Linked DNA regions of Homo sapiens: all the other regions are linked to region 3. The links are contacts of gene promoters, found by promoter capture Hi-C in human tissues and cell types (Jung and others, 2019). All regions are on one chromosome and are shown on one strand. The core of a region is centred on a gene start or on the middle of the fragment in contact, and the rest is flanking DNA. Distances in the headings are between cores, read along the strand shown. Region 1 overlaps LOC124904663 (a long non-coding RNA gene). Region 2 overlaps ZNF43 (zinc finger protein 43). Region 3 holds the start of ZNF431 (zinc finger protein 431).

Region 1 (4,276 bases), core at 1,577-4,076, 720 kb before region 3:
TGGATTCAAAATATGGAGCTACAGATTTAGGTCCTGAATGGCAGGAGTAGCAGCAGGTGTTACTTGCACATTAGTGAGCATTTCAGCAAGAGTAGAAAGGGGATAGTGGAGACTTTCTTGTCTACATGTCTACTCAATTCACATGTTACTCCAGTTCAGTTTGTTGGCCCCACGGTCTCTGAATCTGTTTAAGGTCTGAAAATACAAGAGTCATTGAAAGAGAAAAAATTATTGATTGCTTCCCTGTGAAATTTGTAGAAATCTGATCTAGTCTCTCTAGCAGTGACTGTAAAGGACTCTAGATACCAAATAGGCAGGGACACAATTCTGCCTTCATATTTAGGGGACAGCATGCACTTTGCTGCACAAGTGTGAGTTGACTGGAAGCCTGAGAGGAATAGTCCCCTCTAGAGTAAGTTCCGGTTGGCACCTTATTTGTGTTTATATCATGTCTGGTAATTCTAGACAGTGTTTGGAAACAATAATTAAAAGACAGATTTTATCCAGCTCCAGAGAAACTCCACAATAATAGAACAGAAAGAAAATGGTTTTATTACACAATTGAACTTGAATGTGACATGCATCATGGTCAGTCTGCTTAAGAGACTGCAAAGATAGAAAGATGGTCACCAATATTAGTCCCCAAGCAGAAGAATTTCCAGCACCATGTCATACATAGTTCATCCTAAATTCACCTGGAGATTGAAGAGGCCATCTGTGTATACTAATTGCTTATATTCAATGACAAATAAACTTTTCACATCTTCATAACAGGAGGTAGTTTAGCAGCTTGAAGCCAGGTGCCTGCTGAAGGTAGCCTCTTACTCTGCTACAAAAATGGTTGAATAGGGTTCTTTTTTGCTATTTACATTTTAGAGCTGTGGTTCTGTACTCCCTGCCACTGGGCTACAGCACTCCTGCTTGCTTTCTCCTGGTTGCTAGTATGCTCTCTTGACCTCTACCATGTGCCACTGAGGCACAGCCCAGAGCACAGCTCACATTTTATGTGAATCCCATTTGCCACAGCAGCACTTTAGTGTCACATCAGATAGTGAAGCCTGAGCTGCAGGAGGAGAGCCTGCAGGCCTCCTGGGTAGAATTACACATTCACAATAATGGAAATGAGAGCAGTGTTTCAACCTCAGTTTCTACTTATAATGGTGACAAGGAAAAAATACTGCTGAATTTTCAGCATGACTCAAGATAGAGATAGCTCCAAAAGTTCTCACTATGACAGCCCACCTCATTCAGAAAAAAATGGGATATTAATAGGGTTTCTGAAACAGACACCTAAAGCTTTGGAGAGACAAACAGATCTCCGTCTGAGCAAGATTGAGAGAAAAAAGCTAAAACTATCTTAAGAAAAAGCTCAGATTAGATGTAAGATTGATGATGTCAGCCAGAAAATATTCCCCTGAAAGCAATTTCTCTCTAAACACCCAAAGTGCACAGCTACTCTCTGCATGAGAAACATTAGCATTATGAAGAAAGGGGCAAAGTCTCAGAAGAATTTTATAGTTTCTTTTCTATCTCTGCTGATCCATCATCTCCTAGTCATTGAATAGGGGTTCTGTATTGAAATACATCTGACAACTTCCCACAACACCTTCTGATGAAGAAATAGAATCTGACTGTGTTCATTTATTGGAATATATTAGAACTTGCAACATAGCTAACTGAAGAGCTACTATGGTTTTTGGTGGCCACATCACCTGTCTTTATTTGTCATGTAATAGCAGCATACCAATTTAGTGAAATAAAAGATATTAAAATTTTGTTTACTCATAATTATCCCTATTGAATAAAGTAATAAACATGTCACACTAATATCTACTTACTGTGACAATTTGGTAATAAATTTTCTTTAGATATTAGATATAAATATCAGTATGAATAATTTTAATAAACTAGTAATAATATATGTAGTTTTAAAAATTGCAACTATACTTCAGTTAAAACACTTTATATTTCAAAAGTATAAATTACAATATTAAAATAACCATGTAAGTGATTCATTCAAAGTAAGTATTGCGGCTTTATATTCATGTTACTGTAGAAAATACTGTTTATGGCTCATGCCTTGTCCACACTTCGGGAGGCTGAAATGGGTGGGTCACCTGGGTCAAAAGTTCAAGATCAAACTGGAGAACATGGTGACACCCATCTCTACTATAAATACAAAAACTTAGTCAGGAATGGTGATGCACACCTGTAATCCCAGCTACTCAAGAGGCTGAGGCAGAAGAATCGCTTGAACCCGGGAGGCAGCGGTTGCAGTGAGCCGAGATCATGCCATTGCACCCCAGCCTCAGCAACAGAGTGAGACTCTGTCTCAAAAGAAAAAAAAAAAGAGAATACTGTTAAATGTATATAAATGCAGGTTGTCTACAAACATTACGTATAACTATGCTAATTATTCTGAAGTAATAAATAGAAAGCAAGGTACAACTACTGACTCCACTGTTAAGTTTATACACTAGACTGTTCTTGTTTTTGCAGTGCAAGTACTTCAGCCTGCAAATATTGGATAATTTCCTTAGATCATCAGGTTTCTGTCAAAGAAACGTAGTATCTTTTATTGTTTACCATTCTGTGTTACTAAATTTAATCCTATCTTTGTGCTAAGCTTTTTTGTGCTCTAAAATTAGCTTTTACCTAAACAAATCTGTGTCTATTTTAAAGGACTAAAAATGAAAAAAATAAAGTTTTCAGAACCAAAAACAAACCAATAAATCTGAAGTACCAGATAACGATAATCTGGAGTCAGAAAAATGACAAAAGGGGATGGGCATGGTGGCTCACGCCTGTAATCCCAGCACTTTGGGAGGCAGAGGTGGGCGGATCACAAGGTCAGGAGGTCAAGACCATCCTGGCTAACATGGTGAAACCCCGTCTTTACTAAAAATACAAATTAGCCAGGTGTGGCAGCATGCGCCTGTAGTCCCAGCTACTTGGGACGCTGAGGCAAGAGAAGGGCATGAACCTGGGAGGCAGATGTTGCAGTGAGCCGAGATTGCCCCACTGCATTCCAGCCTGGGTGACAGAGCGAGACTCTGTCTTAAAAAAAAAAAAGAAAATGAAAAAGAAAAAATGACAAAAGACATTATTTAGCTGTTAATATGATTTACATACATTTCAAAAAAGCAGAGAAAATTGTCTATATATAATCTAAATCCCTTAAGCAAAGAGGGAATAGCAAAATATTTTTTTGGAACTTATTGAAGAGTTTTGAACTCTTGGACATCTGAAATTTGCACACTCTATGCACTTGACAGAATGTTTATGAAGGAAAAACCAGAAAAGAGAAAGATGTTATAAAAAAATCCATGAGTGCACAAGACCAATGCAACAGAATAGAGAGCCCAGAAATAATGCCACCCTCCTACAACCATCAGATTTTTGATGAAGCTGACAAGAGAAATGTGGGAAGGATTCTCTATTTAATAAACAGTGCTGGAATAACTACCTAACATTATGTAGACGACTGAAGCTAGACCTCTTCATTATACCGTATACAAAAATCAACTCAAGATAAATTAAAGACTTAAGTGTAAAACTTAAAATTATGGCGGGGCGCGGTGGCTCATGCCTGTAATCCCAGCACTTTGGGAGGCCGAGGCGGGTGGATCACGAGGTCAGGAGATCGAGACCATCCTGGCTAAAATGGTGAAACCCCGTCTGTACTAAAAATACAAAAAATTAGCCAGGCATGGTGGCGGGCGCCTGTAGTCCCAGCTACTCGGGAGGCTGAGGCAGAATGGTGTGAACCCGGGAGGCGGAGCTTGCAGTGAGCCGAGATTACACCACCGCACTCCAGCCTGGGCGACAGAGCGAGACTCCGTCTGAAAAAAAAAAAAAAAACAGAAACCAACCAAACAAAAAAACCCTTAAAATTATGAGAAACCCTCCAAGATAACCTAGGAAATACCATTCTAGACATAGAAACTGGCAAAGACTTCATGAGGAAGCTACCAAAAGCAACTGCAACAGAGGCAAAAATTGAAAAATGGGACCTATTTTTCAATTGTGAAGATCTTAAGAGCTTCTTCACAGCAGAAGAGATTATCAACAGAGTAGACAACCTACAGAATAAAGGAAAATATTTGCCTCTGACAAAGGTCGACTTTCCAGAATTTATTAAGAGCTTAAACAAGTTTACAAGAAAAAAACAAGCAACCTCATTAAAAAGTAGACAGGACGGGCACAGTGGCTCACGCTTGTAATCCCAGCACTTTGAGGGGACAAGGAGGGTGGATCACTTGAGAGGAGTTCAAGA
Region 2 (4,594 bases), core at 1,324-3,823, 690 kb after region 3:
TTAAGAGATTGCAAAGACAGAAAGAGAGTTCAGCAGGCTCACTAAGCCTGAGCAGTGATTCAGGCTCAGTTTCTACTTACAATGGTGACATGGAAAAAATACTGCTGGGTTTGGCTGAGTGCAGTGGCTCACACCTGTAATCCCAGCACTTTGGGAAGGAGGCAGGCAGATCACCAGGTCAAGAGATCGAGACCATCCTGGCCAACATGGTGAAACCCCATCTATACTAAAAATAGGTAAATTAGCTGGGTGTGGTGGTGCATACCTGTACTCCAAGCTACTAAGGAGGCTGAGGCAGGGGAATCACTTGAAACCAGGAGGCGGAGGTTGCAGTGAGCCGAGATCGCGCCACTGCACTCCAGCCTGGCGACAGAGTGAGACTCTTTGTCTCCAAAAAAAAAAAACTGTTGGGTTTTCAGCATGAGTTCAGATGATGATAACTCCGAGAGTTTTCATCGTGCATTCACAGGCACCATGGGACACTAACAGAGCTTCTGAAACAGACACCCAAAGCATTAGAAAGAAAAACAGCTCTCCATTTGAGTAACACTGTATTGAGAAAAAAAAAAAGAAGTTCAAAGCATCTTAAGAAAAAACTTAGATTAGATGAAAGATTGATCAAGTCAACCAAAAATACTCCCCTTAAACAAATTTCTCTCTAAACGAAGTGCACAGCTACTCTCAGCACAAGAAACATGAGCATTATGAAAAAAATATATATTCTCAGCAGAATTTTCTAAGGTTTCTCTTCCATGTCTGCTGCTGTCTCATCTCCTAGCCATTGGATGGGAGTTCCATATTGGAATACATCTCACAATTTCCACATGCACCTTTTGATGAAGAATTGAAATCTTGAGTTTATTCATATAGTGTAATATATTCAAGCTTGCAACACTGCTAACTGAAGAGCTACTATGTGGTTTTTTTTTTTTTGAAATGAAGTTTCCCTCTTGTTGCCCAGGCTGGAGTTCAATGGTGCGATCTTGGCTCACTGCAACCTCCGCCTCCCAGGTTTAAGTGATTCTCCTGCCTCAGCCTCCCAAGTAGCTGGGATTACAGGCATGCACCACCATACCTGGCTAATTTTTCTATTTTTGGCAGAGACAGGGTTTCTCCATGTTGGTCAAGCAGGTCTTGAATTCCCAACCTCAAGTGATCCACCCACCTTGGCCTCCCAAAGTGCTGGGATTACAGGTGTGAGCTACTGCGCCTGGCCATTTTTTTTTTTTTTTTGAGATGGAGTTGAGCTTTTGTTTCCCAGGCTGGAGTGCAATGGCACAATCTCGGCTCACTGCAACCTCCGCCTCCCAGGTTCAAGCAATTCTCCTGTCTCAGCCTCCCAAGTAGCTAGGATTACAGGCATGCACCACAATGTATGGCTAATTTTGTATTTTTAGTAAAGTTGGAGTTTCTCCATGTTGGTCAGACTGGCCTTGAAATCCCAACCTCAGGTGATCCACCCGCCTCAGCCTTCCAAAGTGCTGGGATTACAGGCGTAAGGCACCGTACCCAGCCTCTGAAGAGCTACTATATTTTTTGAGTGGCCACCTGACCTGTTTTTATCTGTCCTGTAATAGCAGCATTCCAATTTAGTTAAATGAAAGACACTAAAATTAAGCTTCCCTGTAATTATCCATATTGGATAAATTAATAAGCATGTCAGACTAATATCTATTGTAACAATTTGGTAGTGACTTTTCTTTGGATATTAGATATAAATATCTAAGTATAACCAACTTTAATGTACTAGTCATAATGTATGTAGTATTCTAAAAAATTGTTTGTAACCATATTTCAGTTAAAACTACTTTATATTTCAAAGTATGAGTAAGAATATTAAAATAACTATTTAGGCTAGGCATGGTGATTCATGCCTGTAATCCCAGCACTTTGGGAGGCCAAGGCGGGCATACCACAAGGTCAGGAGATTGAGACCATCCTGGCTAACACGGTGAAACCCCATCTCTCATAAAAATACAAAAAATTAGGCCAGGCGCGGTGGCTCATGCCTGTAATCCCAATACTTTGGGAAGCTGAGGCGGGTGGATCACCTGAGGTCAGGAGTTCGAGACCAGCCTGACCAACATGGAGAAACCCTGTCTCTACTCTAAAAGTACAAAATTTAGCCAGGCATGGTGGCACATGCCTGTAACCCCAGCTACTCAGGAGGCTGAGGCAGGAGAATCACTTGAACCCAGTAGGCGGAGGTTGCAGTAAGCTGAGATCATGCCATTGTACTCCAGCCTGGGCAACAGGAGTGAAACTCCGTCTCAAAAAAAGTAAATTTAAGGAAAAAAAAAAAATACAGCCGGACGCGGTGGCTCACGCCTGTAATCCCAGCACTTTGGGAGGCCGCAGCGAGCAGATCACGAGGTCAGGAGATCGAGACCATCCTGGCTAACACGGTGAAACCCCGTCTCTACTAAAAATACAAAAAAATAGCCGGGTGCCCTGGCGGGCGCCTATACTCCCAGCTACTTGGGAGGCTGAGCCAGGAGAATGGCGTGAACCAGGGAGGCGGAGATCGCAGTGAGCCAAAATGGCGCCACTGCACTCCAGCCTGGGCGAAAGAGAGAGACTCTGTCTCAAAAAAAAAAAAAAAAAAAAAAAAAAAAAAAAATTAGCCGGACGTGGTGGCACGTGCCTGTAGTCCCAGCTACTCCAGCTACTCAGGAGGCTAAGGCAGGAGAATCGCTTGAACCCATGAGGCAGAGGTCACAGTGAACCGAGATCGTGCCACTGCACTCGAGCCTGGGTGACAGAGTGAGACTCCATCACAAAGGAAAAAAAAACAAAAAACACCACACACAAAAAAAACTACACAGACTCCAAGGTTGAGTTTACACACTGAACTGTTCTTGCTTTTGCAGTGTAAGTACTTCAGCCTGCAAATATTAGATTACCTTGGATTATCAGTTTTCTGTCAAAGAAATTTATTCAGTATTTTTTAGTTTTTACCATTCTGTATTTCTAAATTTAATTCGTTCTTCGTACTAAACTTCTGTGTGCTCTTAAAATGAGCTTTAATCTAAACAAATCTGTGTCTACTTTAAAAGACTAAAAAAAAAATTAAATTTTCCCAAATCAAGGATAAGCAATGAATCTGAGGTCTTAAATAAAGACAATCTTGAGTCAAAAGAATGCCAAAAGATTTGGCTGTTAATATGATTTAAATATATTTCAAAAAAGCAATAAAAATATCTCCATATAATCTAAATGCTTTAAGATAAAAGAGTTGAACAAGATAGTCTCTCTTATTTTCAGGTAGGATAATAAAGCCTCTGATTTATATTTTCTTTTACAACAGCCAGGTCTCTGGACATATTGAACTCTTGAACATCTGAATTTCAGTAGACATTGGATTCATTGAGCTCCGTCTCAAAAAACAAAAAAACACAAAACCTGACATCATAAAAGAACAAGAGAAGAAAAAGCAAACTGACCTCTAAGCTAACAGAGGACAAGAAATGAAAATCAGATCTGAACTGGAGAGTTAGACAAAAAAATGATAAAAATATGGAGAAGGCTGGGTGCAGTGGCTCACCCCTGTAATCGCAGCATTTTGGGAGGCCGAGGTGGGCAGATCACTTGAGGTCTGGAGTTCGAGACCAGCCTGGCAAAATAGTGAAACCCGGTCTCTACTAAAAATACAAAAATTGGCCATGTGTATTGGTGGGCACCTGTAATCCCAGCTACTCAGGAGGCTGAGGCAGGAGAATTGCTTGAACCAGGGAGGCGGAGGTTGCAGTGAGGCGGAGGTTGCAGTGAGGCAAGGTTGTGCCACTGCACTCCAGCCTGGGCAATAGAGAGAGATTCTGTTTCAAAAACAAAATGAAAAAAAAAAACAAAACAAAAAACAAACAAACAAACAAAAAAAGAAATCCAGGAGTAAAATCTTTGAAAGAATTAATAAGATAAATAGCACTCTAGAGAGATTAATGAAGAAAGAGAAGATCCAAATAAACACGATTAGAAATGACAAAATGGCCATTAACACTGACCCAACAACAACAAAATAATTATTCAAGTCTGTAACGAACACCTCTATGTAAACAAACCGGAAAATCTAGAATAGATCAATTCCTAGACACGTACATCCTCCAAAGACTGAAAAAAAAAAAAAAAGTATCCCTGAAGAGACCAACAAGATTCAAAATTGAAGTATAATAAATAGCCTAGAAACCAATAAAAAACCAGAATCAGACATATTCACAAAAGAATTCTACCAGATGTACAAAAAAAAAAAAGCTGATACCATTCTTACTAGAGCCATTCCAAAAAATTGAGAAGGAACTCTTCCCCAACTCATTACATAATAGCATTATTCTGATACCAAAACCTGGTATAAAACAAAAAAAGAAAACTTCATGCCAATGATCTTAATAAAAAATGATGGAAAAATTCTCAACAAAATACTGGCAAACTGAATCCAGCAGCACATCAAAAAGCTAATCTACTATGATCAAGTAGCCTATATCCCTGGGATGCAAGGTTATTTCAACATACACAAATCAATAAATGTGATTAATCACATAAACAGAACTAAAGACCAAAACCACAAGATTATCTCAATAGATGCAGAAAAATCTTTCAA
Region 3 (4,097 bases), core at 527-3,026:
GGTACTAATTGCAAAATGGTGGCAATTTTTAATCTCTTCTGTATCCATGCCCATTGCCAGGTGCTTTTACAACTGTTTCCATCAAGATCCAGAATCTGTTTTCCAAACCCTAGATCTGGCTGGCCTTATTGGCTCAGAGTGGTAGAAACTTGTGAACATGACAGTGGGCTAGTTTGGGGCCCAGGCTCAAATGGTCTTGAATGCTTCTGTTTTTCTTTCAGAATGCTGCCATCTCCCTGAATAAAGCCATGTTAGCCAGCTGGAAAATAAGATACCATGGGAAGGAGAAGCAAGGTGCCCTGTTGACAGCCCCAGAACTAGAAGCTCACCCCCAGAAGCACAGCTGGCTAGTCAACAAGCAGCTGATGATACGTGTCTCAAAGAGCTCAGCTGAGACTAGAAGAACGGCCCCACTCAGTCTAGCCTAAATGGCTGACCATCTCAATTATGAACTAATAAGTTTTGGACGATTTGTTATGCTACAATAGCTAACTAATACATGCACCCCGTGCAGATAGGACACCAGGATTCTATGACAGGTTGATTACTAGTTACCTTCTAACAGTGGGCACCCTATAGGTACTGATTTTTTCCCCTGATTTAAAGTTGGGTGACTTGTAAGAGAATGTTGAGTAATGCAGAAATACACGTAGACATGTATGCATGTGATTGGTGCTTATACCCACACAGTCCCACACACCACAGGAGAAAACAGATAACTACGGCCTGACCATTAGGGCCAAGGCCAATAGCAAAATAAGTTTTGCCTTTAATCTGTTTTCTCCATATCTAAACATTTGAGGTCAAGAGTGTGGACAGATCTGAAGACACAGAGTTTTATTATCCTGTGGCCCCAACATTCTTTCTTCACTGTCTGATCTCTGGAAGAAAATGGGCAACAGGTGGCTATCAGTGGTCTCCTTGTGGTTATTTTGTTCTTGCTGCCCTCTGCTCTTTCTATGGCCACTATCTGTTCCACCCTCAGAACTGAAGGGAGATGTTGGTAGGGAGAGGCTTTTCCTTCACCTCTGGCAGAAAAGGTTTGCTGGGGCCCTTCACCTCCCGACATCAGAGCTGCACTTCAATGTGGAAGCTTTGGTCATGTGTGGCTCCTGAGTGCCTGGAATGTTCCTGGTCTGAACTGCGATGTGCTAGAAAGGTAAAATACAGAGTTAGTTTCAAAGATTTAGTTTCAAATATTTATATACTTTATTAATAATCACATATTTCTCACACATTAAAATGAAAATTTTTTGATATATTGGGTTAATTAAATTGTTACAATCAATTCAACCTGTTACTTTTTTTTTTTAAGTTTGGTTACTAGAAAATTTAAAATTTACATATGGCTCACATTTTATTTCAGAAAATTACCTCCGTTCTAAAATTTCAGACGGCCTGCTGAAAGACCAGAAGCCGGGAAGGTCATAAAATCCGAAATTTTAAAATAATTGTTATTATATTCTTTTCATTTGTGAATAGGCATACAGTATGTTATTTATAAATGCATGTGACTTTACACACAAGGTTAAATACAAATTCCCTCTGGGGTGGGCCTGGCTAAGCTCTGGGAGGAAGCCCTGCCTGAAAAGACGGCAGCCTAAGCTGTCACTCTTTCTTCACTCAGCCCAGCATCTGTTCGCATCTTCTGTCACTCAGGGCCTGAGAAGGTGGGGTTTTAAACGTTATCCAATCAGCGACGCTAGGCTGGGAACCGTCCAATCAGGCACGCAGCTGGAGCGGACAGGACGGCTTCCGGGATGTGGCGGGGCCTTTGTCTCTCGCCGCAGCCTGAGCTCCAGGTCTCCCCTTCGCTGCTCTGTGTCCTCTGCTCCTAGAGGCCCAACATCTGTGGCCCTGTGACCTGCAGGTATTGGGAGACCCACAGCTAAGACACCGGGACCCCCTGAAAGCCTAGAAATGGTGAGAGTGCCGGGTCGGACATCCCGAGAGAGGGGAAGGGCTGGTTGTAACCGGTGGGAAGTGGCTGTGGCGGGACTCAGGCCTCCCCGCAGTCAGCTCCACAGTCTGCGCCCCGAGTTCTCCTTGCCCAGCTCGGCCTCAGTCCCCTCCAGCCATAAGATGGCGGCTGTGCTGACAGTCGGGACCCCAGGCGTCCTGTCTCTTCACTGCACAGTGACTGTGCCCTGGCCTGGAGCCCTCTCTGGGCAGCTCTGCACCCGCAGCACCGCGTCTTTCCCAGATTGTGCAGGGACCACGGGAGGGTCTTCAGGGGACAGTTCTGACTCGGGGTGCGGGTTCATGAATGGGAAGAGCTTTGTTCCGTGGAGTTCCCAGTTCCTCTTGTCTTCTGTTAAAAATATATGGGAGTCACTATAAAAACATTAAATAATTTAATCAAAGAGTGATTCAAAAATTGTGGAGCACCCAGCTGTGGTTTGTAATTTGTGCTTCATGGGCGGGACTTGAAGAAAAGACTTTTATAAAAAGCATGATGAAGAAAACCAAATTCAGTAATTGGTTAGGTAGAGTTACATAGTTTCTTAATTTGTACAATAAAGGTGAAAATTTCCTGATTATGTAATCAGAGGTTAATTGGCAGTTTATAGTTGGTTAGGGCTGAGTTTTGTTTCTCTCAATGTAGTAATTTACTGAAAAATGTACGTCAGTTAGATTTTTTTAAAGTAGGAACCCAGGGACTAAAGACACCTCCGTCTAATTGCCTGCCTTTTAATTATTTTCACAGTCCATGGGGAGCTGATTTTCCGCTGCATTTTTCACCTGTGTCCCAAGCAGGGTCTTAAGTCTAACCCCCATTCCTCATTTCTCCAGCCTCCCTCTGGCTTGCAGTAAGATACTAAATTTCCAGTTCCTTCTGGTGTTTCCAAATGCCAGCTTTTCCTCCCTAATTCACGTTATCGCCTATTTGTCTTTTAGTGTACTTTTCTATACCGTATTTTAATTATTTTTTGACAAAGCATTAAATGACGCTTTTCAAAAAGTTTTTTAAAAGATTTTTTAAAAAAAATATCTGTAAATATTTCCCATGAGAAGAAAGCAAAGAATAATCCCCTGATACTGTATTGTTAAAACTCTCTGTGCCTTTTCTCCTTGTATCTTCTCTAGGCACAGAGATCTTGTCAGAATGTTTTTCGGTCAAGGTTTTCCTTTGGAAACTTTATGGGGTGATGTGTCCTCAGCCACCTTTTAGTTTTTTTCTGGTCGTGGGTTTCAGTGCTGTCTGGGGATGAACTAAGATATCCACCGTGGTTATGTCAGCTAAAGTGCCTAGTGAATATCAGCTTCTGGTTTATTTTCTTCCATAGGACGACTTGAAATATGGAGTGTATCCTCTCAAGGAAGCAAGTGGATGCCCTGGGGCTGAGAGGAATCTTCTAGTTTACTCTTATTTTGAAAAGGTAACCTCTTGAGACATTAAAATTGTCTACGCCCAACCCAGCTTTCATTTCTTGGGGACACATTGCTGGTCAGCCAGTCCGATGCTGGCACTGATGGGAAAACACAGAAATAATGTATGCCCCCTGGATTGTCTTAGGGGGCAGAAAGATAATGAAATAAATATAGTGGAAGAAAAATAGTGTTAAAAAGTGAAAAATTTGTGACAGATAAAATAGTATCCCAAAAGACCAGAAAAAAACAAAAACAAAAACAAAAAAACCTGACTCTAGTGAGATGGTGTAAGAACTTGCAAAGTAAAATGCACCTGGAGCAGTCACCGAGAAATACTGCAGTGTCTCCTGTATGGGTGGTTCATGAGCACATAAGTGAGCAGGAGTGGGTGGAAGAATCTCCCAAGTGATTGAATGGCCTGACTTGAAACATGAGTCAGACACACATTTGTTTTTTAATCAGCACTGCCACTCCCTGGGTTTGTCACCTTGAAAATATTTGTTTACTTATTTTGACCTCACTTTTTTAGCTGTAAATTGCATTATATTAGTAGGGCTTGAAAGGTAGGAATTTTTTTTTTTTTTTGAAACAAGTTTCACTCTTGCTGCCCAGGCTGCAGAAGGATTGATCTTGGCTCACTACAACCTCTGTCTCCCAGGTTCAAGCAATTCTCCTACCTCAGCCTCCTAAGTAGCTGAGATTACAGGCACACACCACCACACCCA

What was found. The method cuts DNA at HindIII sites, captures the fragments that hold promoters and counts their contacts. A contact is called where the count stands out against the background at its distance.
Region 1: a fragment that was not itself captured here is called in contact with the fragment with the promoter of ZNF431 in region 3 in 1 of the 25 tissues and cell types used here (stomach).
Region 2: a contact is called between a fragment that was not itself captured here and the fragment with the promoter of ZNF431 in region 3, in 1 of the 25 tissues and cell types used here (spleen).

The regions. Positions count from the first base shown.
Region 1 is chr19:20,415,457-20,419,732 of GRCh38, forward strand. LOC124904663 (a long non-coding RNA gene) reads right to left here. Exons shown (of 2, transcript XR_007067167.1): 2 at 1-195. It also overlaps the pseudogene ZNF826P and the pseudogene BNIP3P22. Among named protein-coding and RNA genes, the nearest start is that of MIR1270, 18 kb to the left of the region's middle. The HindIII fragment of the contact is 4,759 bases long and covers 448-4,276 here.
Region 2 is chr19:21,826,446-21,831,039 of GRCh38, forward strand. All of the region lies in intron 1 of ZNF43 (zinc finger protein 43), which reads right to left. It also overlaps the pseudogene BNIP3P27. Among named protein-coding and RNA genes, the nearest start is that of ZNF43, 7.4 kb to the right of the region's middle. The HindIII fragment of the contact is 5,891 bases long and covers 1-4,594 here.
Region 3 is chr19:21,140,264-21,144,360 of GRCh38, forward strand. It overlaps ZNF431 (zinc finger protein 431), which reads left to right and starts at 1,777. Exons shown (of 5, transcript NM_133473.4): 1 at 1,777-1,923; 2 at 3,288-3,380. The coding sequence starts at 1,921. RefSeq lists enhancers at 1,803-2,282, 3,064-4,097. The HindIII fragment of the contact is 15,290 bases long and covers 1-4,097 here.